Regions from separate parts of the Homo sapiens genome. Here all the other regions are linked to region 1. The links are contacts of gene promoters, found by promoter capture Hi-C in blood cells and fetal thymus (Javierre and others, 2016). All regions are on one chromosome and are shown on one strand. The core of a region is centred on a gene start or on the middle of the fragment in contact, and the rest is flanking DNA. Distances in the headings are between cores, read along the strand shown. Region 1 holds the start of PRPS1L1 (phosphoribosyl pyrophosphate synthetase 1 like 1). Region 2 has its middle 170 kb from the start of HDAC9. Region 3 has its middle 130 kb from the start of LINC02889. Region 4 has its middle 150 kb from the start of HDAC9.

The links. The method cuts DNA at HindIII sites, captures the fragments that hold promoters and counts their contacts. A CHiCAGO score of 5 or more calls a contact.
Region 2: a contact is called between a fragment that was not itself captured here and the fragment with the promoter of PRPS1L1 in region 1, in 1 of 17 cell types (neutrophils). The highest score is 7.1, in neutrophils.
Region 3: a fragment that was not itself captured here is called in contact with the fragment with the promoter of PRPS1L1 in region 1 in 1 of 17 cell types (M2 macrophages); the score reaches 5.0 in M2 macrophages.
Region 4: a fragment that was not itself captured here is called in contact with the fragment with the promoter of PRPS1L1 in region 1 in 1 of 17 cell types (neutrophils); the score reaches 6.9 in neutrophils.

Annotation. Positions count from the first base shown.
Region 1 is chr7:18,026,392-18,029,100 of GRCh38, reverse strand. It overlaps PRPS1L1 (phosphoribosyl pyrophosphate synthetase 1 like 1), which reads left to right and starts at 1,255. Exons shown (of 1, transcript NM_175886.3): 1 at 1,255-2,331. The coding sequence starts at 1,319. The coding sequence ends at 2,275. The HindIII fragment of the contact is 3,750 bases long and covers 1-1,650 here.
Region 2 is chr7:18,327,754-18,330,482 of GRCh38, reverse strand. It overlaps a transcript of HDAC9 not described here. Among named protein-coding and RNA genes, the nearest start is that of HDAC9, 170 kb to the left of the region's middle. The HindIII fragment of the contact is 3,573 bases long and covers 1-2,729 here.
Region 3 is chr7:17,690,649-17,693,423 of GRCh38, reverse strand. No RefSeq gene overlaps it. Among named protein-coding and RNA genes, the nearest start is that of LINC02889, 130 kb to the right of the region's middle. The HindIII fragment of the contact is 3,289 bases long and covers 1-2,775 here.
Region 4 is chr7:18,346,880-18,349,579 of GRCh38, reverse strand. It overlaps a transcript of HDAC9 not described here. Among named protein-coding and RNA genes, the nearest start is that of HDAC9, 150 kb to the left of the region's middle. The HindIII fragment of the contact is 5,296 bases long and covers 1-2,700 here.

The sequences.
Region 1 (2,709 bases), core at 6-2,505:
GATATAAATGGTTGATCTGTATCTGATGCCTCCATTATTTTTATGAAATCATTGGCATCTATGGTCCTTTCTGCCTCCTTCCTCACTATTTCCAGCCCCGATACGCCATAGAAGCTGTATACTTAAAATTTGCTAACAAACATTTAATTACCAAATACATTTTGTTCATCATTTTTACTACAAAAGTAATAAATGTTCAAATGCCACACTGATAGCAGTAAAATGTAACAGTCCTCCTTCATTCTCAACTCTCACAACCTACTCCCCTCTCCAAAGGTAATTATTATAAAGAGGACTTCCATGCTAATTGGATGCTTTCAGTATCACATAATCTTAAATACATAAATATAATACTATGATATTTTTGTGACTGACTTTACCTTTAAAAAAATACCTAGGAGACATTTCCACATGATTACACTTAATCTATTTAATGGTCGCATATGTATATACAATAAATTATTTGGTAATTTACCTATTGATGAACATTTGTTGGTTCCCATATTTTGCTTTTATAAACAATTCTAGGGCAATTACTATTTGTCATGCACAATTTTTATACCCTAGAAGTAGTATAATACCTGACATATAGGAGGTGTTCACAAAATATTTATTGCATGAATGAATACAGCTACACTACTATGTAGCCATATATATTTGGGGTGCTTGTGAAAATTTCTCTGAAATAGATTCCTAGAAGTATACATGATGAGTCAAAGTTTATGTGCAAAATTACCCATGCAAAATCTACATATTTATACATTCCATCCGAATAGAAGACCTTATCTTAACATTTTGGCTACTTGATGTGTGAAAATAGCGTTTTCTTGATTACTTCCATTGTTTCACGTTTCTTATCCATTTTTTTTTTACTGTGATTGCCTATTTATGCCATTTTTCAACTTTCTATTTTATTGTCTTTTTCTCACTTCATTGGGGAAATTCTTTCTAAAATAATCTTTTGCATATACTTTAGTAGGTAATTTTCCTTTTAAACTTGGGTTTTGCTTTGTAGTTTTATGTTTTTATGCATTCAAATTTGTTTAAATAGCCCTGTGAAACTAATATAGGTGCTAATAGAAAAAAACTCCATACACTGTAAATACTTGATTATTTAGTCTAAAAGTGTGAAGTGGGAGGTGGCAAGCAGAAATTTTTTCAAGAGACCCAGGGTCAATTTGGGACCGCGCGCCGCAAGGGGGAAGGGACCCTAACGGTTGAGTAACAACCGGAAGCCATTAGAGTCTGTGCTTCACTTCCGTTCCAGCCTCAGCGGCAGCTGGATCGCTCGACGGAGTGCCTCTGGTAGTTGGCCAAGACGCCGAATATCAAAATCTTCAGCGGCAGCTCCCACCAGGACTTATCCCAGAAAATTGCTGACCGCCTGGGCCTGGAGCTAGGCAAGGTGGTGACTAAGAAATTCAGCAACCAGGAGACCTGCGTGGAAATTGATGAGAGTGTGCGTGGAGAGGATGTCTACATCGTTCAGAGTGGTTGTGGCGAAATCAACGACAGTCTAATGGAGCTTTTGATCATGATTAATGCCTGCAAGATTGCTTCAGCTAGCCGAGTTACTGCAGTCATCCCATGCTTCCCTTATGCCCGACAGGATAAGAAGGATAAGAGCCGGTCCCCAATCTCTGCCAAGCTTGTTGCAAATATGCTCTCTATAGCAGGTGCGGATCATATCATCACCATGGACCTACATGCTTCTCAAATTCAGGGCTTTTTTGATATCCCAGTAGACAACTTGTATGCAGAGCCAACTGTCCTGAAGTGGATAAGGGAGAATATCCCTGAGTGGAAGAACTGCATTATTGTCTCGCCAGATGCTGGTGGAGCTAAAAGAGTGACCTCCATTGCAGACCAGTTGAATGTGGACTTTGCTTTGATTCATAAAGAACGGAAGAAGGCCAATGAAGTGGACTGCATAGTGCTAGTGGGAGATGTGAATGATCGTGTGGCTATCCTTGTAGATGACATGGCAGACACTTGTGTTACAATCTGCCTCGCAGCTGACAAACTTCTCTCAGCTGGAGCAACCAGAGTTTATGCTATCTTGACTCATGGAATCTTTTCTGGCCCAGCCATTTCTCGCATCAACACTGCATGCTTTGAAGCAGTGGTAGTCACCAATACCATACCTCAAGATGAGAAGATGAAGCATTGCTCCAAAATACGAGTAATTGACATCTCCATGATCCTTGCAGAAGCCATAAGGAGAACTCATAATGGGGAATCTGTTTCCTACCTGTTCAGCCATGTTCCTTTATAACAGAATAACTTCTAGGTTATGCTATTTTAAAATAAAATAAGATTAATAAAAACAAACCTTGCCTTTATTTTTTCTTAGGTTTGATTAAAAGTTCAGCAGAAGATCCAGCTTGCTCCAGTGTAACTTTCTACATCCCACATCAGGTATATAAGAGTTTACCTTAAATTAGGGAAAAACAGGTTAAGAATAATCACTAGGATTTCCTGACTGGGTTGTCTCATCTGGCTTCTTTGATGATTTTGTTAGCCCAGCAGCTTTAACTACAGCCCTTCTGCTGCAAAGATTTCAGACTTCTGAGGGTGTTTTGTAGAGGTGTTTGAAAGTGGTTGGAAAGCTTACATGTAAATGCTTCGGAGTTTTCTTTTTTCAGAACAACTAGCAATAAAGCCACCCAATCTACCCCCTGCCCCAAACCCCCACTTTGTGTCACAAAT
Region 2 (2,729 bases), core at 216-2,715, 300 kb before region 1:
AACATTACAGACTAATGCTTTGGGGGACTGTGACAAAATATTAAAAATATCTGTTCTATTTACAGACAAGGTATCTTGTATGTCCATTAATTTTAATAGTGGAATAGCAGTTTTAGGAGAAAAATATAATCCATTTAGTGAAAACTAAATGTGAACTAACAAGTTTCAGATTTCCGGCAAATATCTAAGTGTCTGAAATACCACCCCAAGTGTCCCCACACCACACATCTACTCACTATTATCACAGAGCTTCACTAAAGTGTGAAGAATTACAGATGCCCTGGGTTTCATTTAGTTTTGAACCTATGTCTCTGAAAAGAATCTTCACAATCTAAATCTTCATTTGGCAAGCAGAAAAGATTGATAAGTATAACTAGAACATCTGCAAAATAATATAATCAGAAAATTTTTATTTTCCCAAAGCATCAAGGTATGAGAGGTGGGTATCATACCTTCCCATTATTCTCACACACGGAACACACACACACACACACACACATACACACAAGCCTTAGAATGCAGCAATAAAATAGACCCAAAGTACCTTAGAAGTAAAATATACACTATTCCCAAAGCAAAACTAGTAAGAATGTTGTGGCTAGCTAAACGGTAGTTAAACATTTCTTCAGTACTTCTGGGGGCCAGGCACTAAGCTAGAGAGCTGGGTTAGTAAGCCTACATAAAATGCATAAAAGGCAGCAAGGAGAGTGTAATGTGAAATGGAGGAAAGAAACAGAAGGCTTCAAAAGACATAATCTGGATCCAAGTGCCATCAACAGGAATTATACTCTGGCCCATGTTCTTGAGCAATCTGATCCCCTGACAGGCACATCACTTTTGTGAATCAGAGAGCACAGAATATCAGAGACCAGTATCATCAAACATTGAATTATACAGTTCATTCCATTCACTGTTTTTTTTTTTTTTGGAGAGATGACATTTCTTTTGTTTACTAATCGACAATTATTCCATTCACTCTTAAGCCGACACTTACCAAAGTGGCCTTCTAAGTATAATTTTTACATATTTATTTTAACTGACAAATAATAATTGTATATTTATGGAGTACAATATGTTATTTTGATTTATGTTATACATTGTAGAAAGATGCATCAAGTTAATTAACATACCTATCAACTCACCAACTTACCATATTTTGTGGTGAGAACGTTAAAAATCTATTCTCCAATAATTTTGAAATATAAAATACATACATTAAAACTGATTCCTCCACTCTAAAATTTTGTACCCTTTGATAAAAATGAACAAAACTTTAGCTACACTAACAAAGAAAAAAAGAAGACCCAAACAAAATCAGAAATGAAAAAGGAGATGTTACAACTGATACCACAAAAATACAAAGGATCAGAAGAGACTATTATAAACTATTATATACCAACAAGTAGGATAACCTAGAAGAAACAAATGAACTACAAACATGGAACCTACCAAGACTGAACCAGGAAGAAAAAGAAAATCTGAACAGATCAATAATGAGTAAGGAGACTGATTCAGTAATAAAATATTTCCTATCAAAGAAAAGTCCAGGACCTAATGACTTCACTGACAAATTCTACCAAACATTTAAAGAAGACCTAATACCAATCCTTCTCAAACTATATTAAAAAATTGAAGAGGAGGAAATACTTCCAAACTAATTTTACAAGGCCATCATTACCATGATACCAGAGCCGGACAAGGACACTACAAGAATAATAAATAAATAAACTACAGGCCAATATTCCTGATGAACATAGATGCAAAAAGTCCTCAACAAAATACTAGCAAACTGAATTCAAAAGCACATTAAAAGGACACCTCACCATGATCAAGTGGGATTTATCCCAAACATGAAAGGATGGTTCAATATCTGCAATCAGTAAATGTGAACACCATATTCACAAAATGAGGATAAAAATTACATGATCTTCTAATTATAATTTGATTTTCCCTATAAAGTGACTTTCAGTTAGTTAGCACAGAGTGGGTTTACGTGTGTATTCTAAATTACTTAGTGCAAAGAATTCTTATTGTAAACCAATAAATTTGCATTTTGGTTATACACTAATATCTGGTGAGTTTGGTTAATGCAAGCCTGTCCCTGCATAAGAGCACTACTCCCAATATCCTAACCCCGTAAGTGTCTGGATCTCCATGGCTAAGATCTACACCCTAGAAACTGTGAGTCCAGCCCCAACACATAACGGGCACTCTTCAATAAACGAGTAAAGGCAATTCCACGTTGCAAAAAGCCCTGGAAGGCAGCTGACATCTCCTGTGATCACCCTTAGATTACTGTGTAGTTTCCTCTCCAATTTCAATAGGAACTAAAGTTCAAAGAGAAAAATACTCATGGGTTAAGTTTCTATAATTTCATTTTATTGTAATGAACTCCAAAAAAAGCTAAAAGCAAAAAGGTTTCTCAGCCATACTTCATTTCCACTCTGATGTTTTCCAGTCATAATTACTGCTTAAATATTCTTTTATACCATGCTAGATTTTTCCAATTGGTATGGCAGCCTATTGCTGAAAGCCACCTTAGAACACTTCTAACTCAACATCCTCTTTTACAAAGGAGCAAATTGATGTTATGATTTCATCTAATACTATAACAATAAAAAAGGAAATAAGTACCAAATGAATATTAAAATAACCAAAAAATTGTTATGTAATTAAAATCAGGAAGTTTGGTAAGTTAGATAGTAGGAAATAAAAAATTATTTCAGAGT
Region 3 (2,775 bases), core at 175-2,674, 340 kb after region 1:
GGGGGTGAACGTTGAAAACAAAAGTGAAAACAGCCAGATATAAAAGGCCACATTTTGTATGATTCCACTCACATGAAATGTCCAGACAAGGTAAATCCATAGACAAAATATAGATTATTGGTTGCCACAGCTGGGAAAAGGAGGGAATTGAGGTGATTACTAATGGTTAAAGGGTTTCTCTCAGGTAATGAAGAGGTTCTCGAGTTAGTGGATATGGCTGCACAAGTGAATATACTAAAAAAAAAATCGCTGAATTGTACACCTTAAAAGAGTAAACTTTTATGGCAAATGAACTATATTTCAGTAGTGATAACACCAAAACAGCAGCAACAGCTACAACAACAAACTTGAAAAGAGAATATGGGAAGAGTTAGGCTAAAGGTTTCAATGACCTCCTGGGCTGGAAGACTTTTGCACCCCAACTTTGCAGAAGGAGATCAGTTTGAAAGATTGCTCACGTCTTCATGATGAAGCATTGTGAGATCCAAGCCGACTTTGGTGGAGGATTTGTTCTTGAGAGGGAGCAGAGAGGAAACAGCGGAGGTTACTCAGCAACAGGTACCTTCAAATCCCACTTGTATTTGGGACCAGAAAGATCCTTGCTTTTGCTTCAAGGCTTTGCTCAGTCCATCCAAAAATTCCCCACCTTTAAAAGACTGGGCAATTGAAAGTGACCACCTCTGAATTAGAAACAAATGAAATGAGCAGAATAAGGTTCATGGAGCTATAGATGCCAGAGAGCATAGAAGTAGTCTGCAAAGGAAAGTCCTAGATGTCAGCGGGGCCTAGTGTAATCTGCTTGATATCTTCTCCCTACTCTGAGGCATGAGAGGGATGAGACCTATCTCCAGGTTGTCACCTTATAACTTACATTGTGGGAGGCCATTCTTCTGCTGCACTGTTGCTCTTGTGGTCAGTTGTGTTGATGCTATGAGTTCTGCTTCTGGTTTTTCCAAGAACACCACTCCTTTGATCTTAGCCTTCACCCTCTGTAGCTTTGGGGCCTAGTGGAAAGAGATGGCTTTAGAAATCAGAAATACTGATTGTAAAACAACCTCTGCTTATCCGTGATACCTACACTGGAGTCTACCAACCACAGTGTTGCAAATGCATTGTGGTGGTGCTTCAAACTGTGGATCTCTCTAACCCTTGGGGTCATTCAGAAACTGGGTGGCTGAGACTCCCAGGAACAGCACCTTTGGCTGTTAGCTGGCTTGCTCAGGGTGCCTCAGAGGGCAAACCTAGCAGGGTGAGGCCTGCACAATACCAGTTGGTGAGCACTGTTAGCTACATCAGCACTCATGGCTCCCCGTCAACACTGTGCACTGCCAACAGGAGCTCTGACACCAGGATGTCTCCAGCAGCCAGGGACAGGCAGAACCATGCCCATATTGTGGAAATGTGGCCGATGGTTTGTAGGGGGCAGGGAAGGGACATGTTCCCAGTGTCCAGATATGCCCAGAGTTTGGCCAAGGTGTGGACAGTTAGGAGTTGGATGTGGTGCTGGGGGAGGGATTCTGGCTGGGGACTCCTGAGGGCACTGACCCACATGGCAGTCTCCCATTTTTCTCTTCGTATGTATATATATAATAATTCTGTCCCAATTTGGTTGATGCGCTATTTTTATAAGATTCCAATTCATAGGACGATGATTCTTTCTTTTGAGATGGAGTCTCGCTCTTTCACCCGGGCTGGAGTGCAGTGGCACCATCTCGGCCCACTGCAATCTCTGCCTCCCAGGTTCAAACAGTTTTCATACCTCAGCCTCCTGAGTAGCTGGGATTAACAGGCATGTGCCTCCATGCCTGGCTAATTTTTGTATTTTTAGTAGAGATGGGGTTTCACCATGTTGTCCAGGTTGGTCTTGAACTCCTTGGCCCCCAAAGTGCTGGGACTACAGGCGTGATCCACTGCACCCCACCCATAGAAGGATGGTTCTTCTAACAACACCTGCAGCTTTTGCAGATTAGAACTTCATTGTTATCTGGAAATATTTGATATAAAAATTCTATTAAAGCCAAAGTCCATTTGCCTTATTTTGATCAAATTAATATTACTCTTGTCCATGAAAGAAAGGAAGAATTGTACCAAAACATACTGTTCCCAAATGACCAGTTTTGACGTGTGCCCTACTGTCGAAAGGGATGTGAGGAAAGAGAAAGTTCCAGACTTTCTGAGCCTCAATTTTCTCACCTGCAAAATAAACATAATAATTCATAACTAATTTAGGCTAGTGCTCAAGGGTGAATCTATTCTCCTTTCCATGCCCTAAAATATTTAGGTTTTTTGATTAAGACATAAAAAAATTCAGAATTTCATAAAACAGGAATCTGGTAGGAGTTTTTTCAACTAAGTCCTTTTTATTTTATACTTAAGGTAACATGAATTAAGAGCAGGCATTGCTCATAGTGGTTTCTCAGCCTTCTGCTGGTGAAGTTTTCACCTCTTCGTTTTACATGTTGAAACAGTGTAAATCTGTCAACCCTACAATCTTGGGAGGCAGACATGGAGATATCCGCAGGCCAGCTCCAGGTATAGGGTCTGTTTCCTGCTTCCCCCCAGGGTAAGGTGTCCACCTTCTTCCTTTGTACTCAGGTTAATCTACAGTGATGGTATCTTGTTATAAATGCTTCACTTTCTCATTTGGTCCTCCTCTGAGCCATGTGCTTGGTAAAACTATCACAACACAGGACAAAACAAAGACTGAAGCAATCACATACTTTCTACTCCTCCTTTGATTTATTTTATATAAATTATCTCTTGGGACTGGAATGG
Region 4 (2,700 bases), core at 201-2,700, 320 kb before region 1:
TCCCCCAATTCAATGTTTGAGAATCAAATATTTATTGCATCCCTGCTATGTGCTAGGCAGTGGGGATAAAGCAGATAACATTAAGCTACCATTCTCAGGCACTAACATTATACTGGGAGAAAGAAAAAATAAAGAAAACTATATTAGATGTTAAGATGTTAGCTGTTGATCACTGCTATAGAGAAAAAATAAGCCAGCAAGGAGGAAGGGCAATATCTGTGTGTGTGTGTGTGTGTGTGTGTGTGTGTGTGTGTGTGTGTGTGTGTGTGTGTAGATGTTCTCAAGTATGGGAGGTCATCTGGAAAGACATCTCTAATGAGGTCAGGGAGAGGTGCACAGCTTACCTAAGGCAAGACAGTTTCAAGCACAGGGACCAACAAATGCAAAAGCCTTAGAACATGAAAGACATACGGTGCAGTGCTTTGTAGGCCTTAGTAAGTAAAGAAGCTGAATTTTACTCTGAGTGACAGAAAACCATTAGGAAGCCAATGGGAGAAATTCATGTTCTCATATTGGGAAAATGACTGTATTAAAGTTATGGGAATAGCTTATAGTGGACAGAACTTGGGCTTGAAGACAGATATACAGGTATTAAAATAATTTCTGTTCTTCACAGCATCATACCTATAAGATGCTGTCTCAATTACTGAGTTCTGTGTTCTCAGACTCCATTTAAATAGTCATAATACCTAAACTGCACTACTACTGTGAAGATTAAATAATACAAGCAGCATCCAGGACTGTGCCTGGATTACAGTAAGTGCTTAACAAATAGTAGCTGTAATTTTAATAGTGTTGCAAGAAGTTGAAATATGTGAGTTTAAGTAGGAAATACACCAATTTTAAAAGGGCTAAAGAGAAGGCAGAAGGAGAAAGTTTGTGTTAGGAGATTTTGGATCCTAAAAGTTGTTAAAGGATTCTTTACCTCTAAATACATCTCCAAAAGATGCCAGTAAGAACCACAGCTCAGAACAACAGATGTGTGATTGCATAATGAAATCTTGGTGTATAGTAAAAATACCTAATAGAAATAATTAAATTATGACCCCTACAGTATAATAGATGCCTAAAAACAGTGGTATTTTTCAGAAAAATTAAGCATTTCTTGGGGCATATCTAATTGAACCTTCCCAAAAATCCATGAGTAAGGTATTATCCTCATTTTTTAAATGAGAAACTGAGATTCAGAAAGGGTAAAAGACAAGTTCAAAAATCACACATGTAGTAAGTGTGCTCAAATCTGGTCCATAGTATAAATGCTCAATAAGTGTTGATAGCTAAGCATTTCCTAAATGAACATACGAATCTATACTCCATATCTTACCTCTTAATCGCTGACATTGCCTCTATAATTAATTAAATCAGATAAATGTTTCCCAAATTCTCCTGATCATAAGAATTACCTGGGGTGCTTGTGCTTTTCATGTCCAACTGCAGGACCCAAAATATTTTGTGGAGCAGCCTAGAAACTGATATTTTAAACCAGCAATTCAAGAGATCCTAATGATGAGGGAATTTTGAGAAACAGTTGCTAGTTACTGCATGATCCGTCTTTCAACTCCAAAATTTGCTACCTACTTCTCTCTTAAAATTAAAAGCAAGAATCTATGACTGTCAACCCTTTATCTATTTCAAAACTCAATACTTATCATCTACTTTGTAAAAACAGAGGGCACTGAGATACAGATTAAAAACATACTGCCGGCCAGGTGCAGTGGCTCGTGCCTGTTATCCCAGCACTTGGGGAGGCCGAGGTGGGTGGATCATCTGAGGTCAGGAGTTTGAGAACCCCATCTCTACTAAAAATACAAAAAATTAGCCGGGCGTGGTGGCATACACCTTGTAGTCCAGCTACTCGGGAGCCTGAAGCAGGAGAATCACTTAAATCTGGGAGGCAGAGGTTACAGTGAGCCGAGATTGCATTCCAGCTTGGGCAACAGACTGAGACTCTGTCTAAAAAATAAAATAAAATAACGTAAGATAAAATAAAATAAATAAGAACATGTTGCAGTTTATCAACTTGGTCTAAGATCCCTTTGTTTAACTGAATAGGAATAAACACAATTTACATGGGAGTTGTTGTTTTTGTTAGTTTTGTTTTCCCATTAGTGGTAGAAATCTAAGCAAATGTCTAAGTAAGGATGTTCTAGTATTAAAACTTTCTGCATGGACTCATTATGAAAAACATCCTCCCCTAAGCCTCCCCAGGGAGTCATAATGGGGTTCCCATAGTATCTAGAAACCTTACTTCATGTTTTATTTCTTGGCTGCACAACTAAGAGTGTTGCTAATGAAGTGCTCATTTTCCTTCACTTTCTGCTAAGAGTGGGAAAATTTATAATATGCTTTAAAAATACACATAGCTACATATTCTAGCAATTGTTGAGTGGTGTGTACTTTGCAGTGCTGGTAACTAGGATTGGAAAATGTTACATTAATACGGTGAATTTTATTTTTCACCAAGTATTGTGTTCTAAAAAGAGTTACTGTGAAATATTCATTCAGTATGGTGCAGAAAACAAATATGAACAACTTTTAAAACCCCCATCCCATGGTACAATATAAAGAAATTGATGCATAGATGTCTTATTTCCTTTGTGCCGCCAGCCTCTCCTATGAATGCCACACCCATGAATTAGGAAAGACTGAACAGATCATTTTAGACCTAGAAAACAAAGTGGTGGATTGGCTATTCCACTT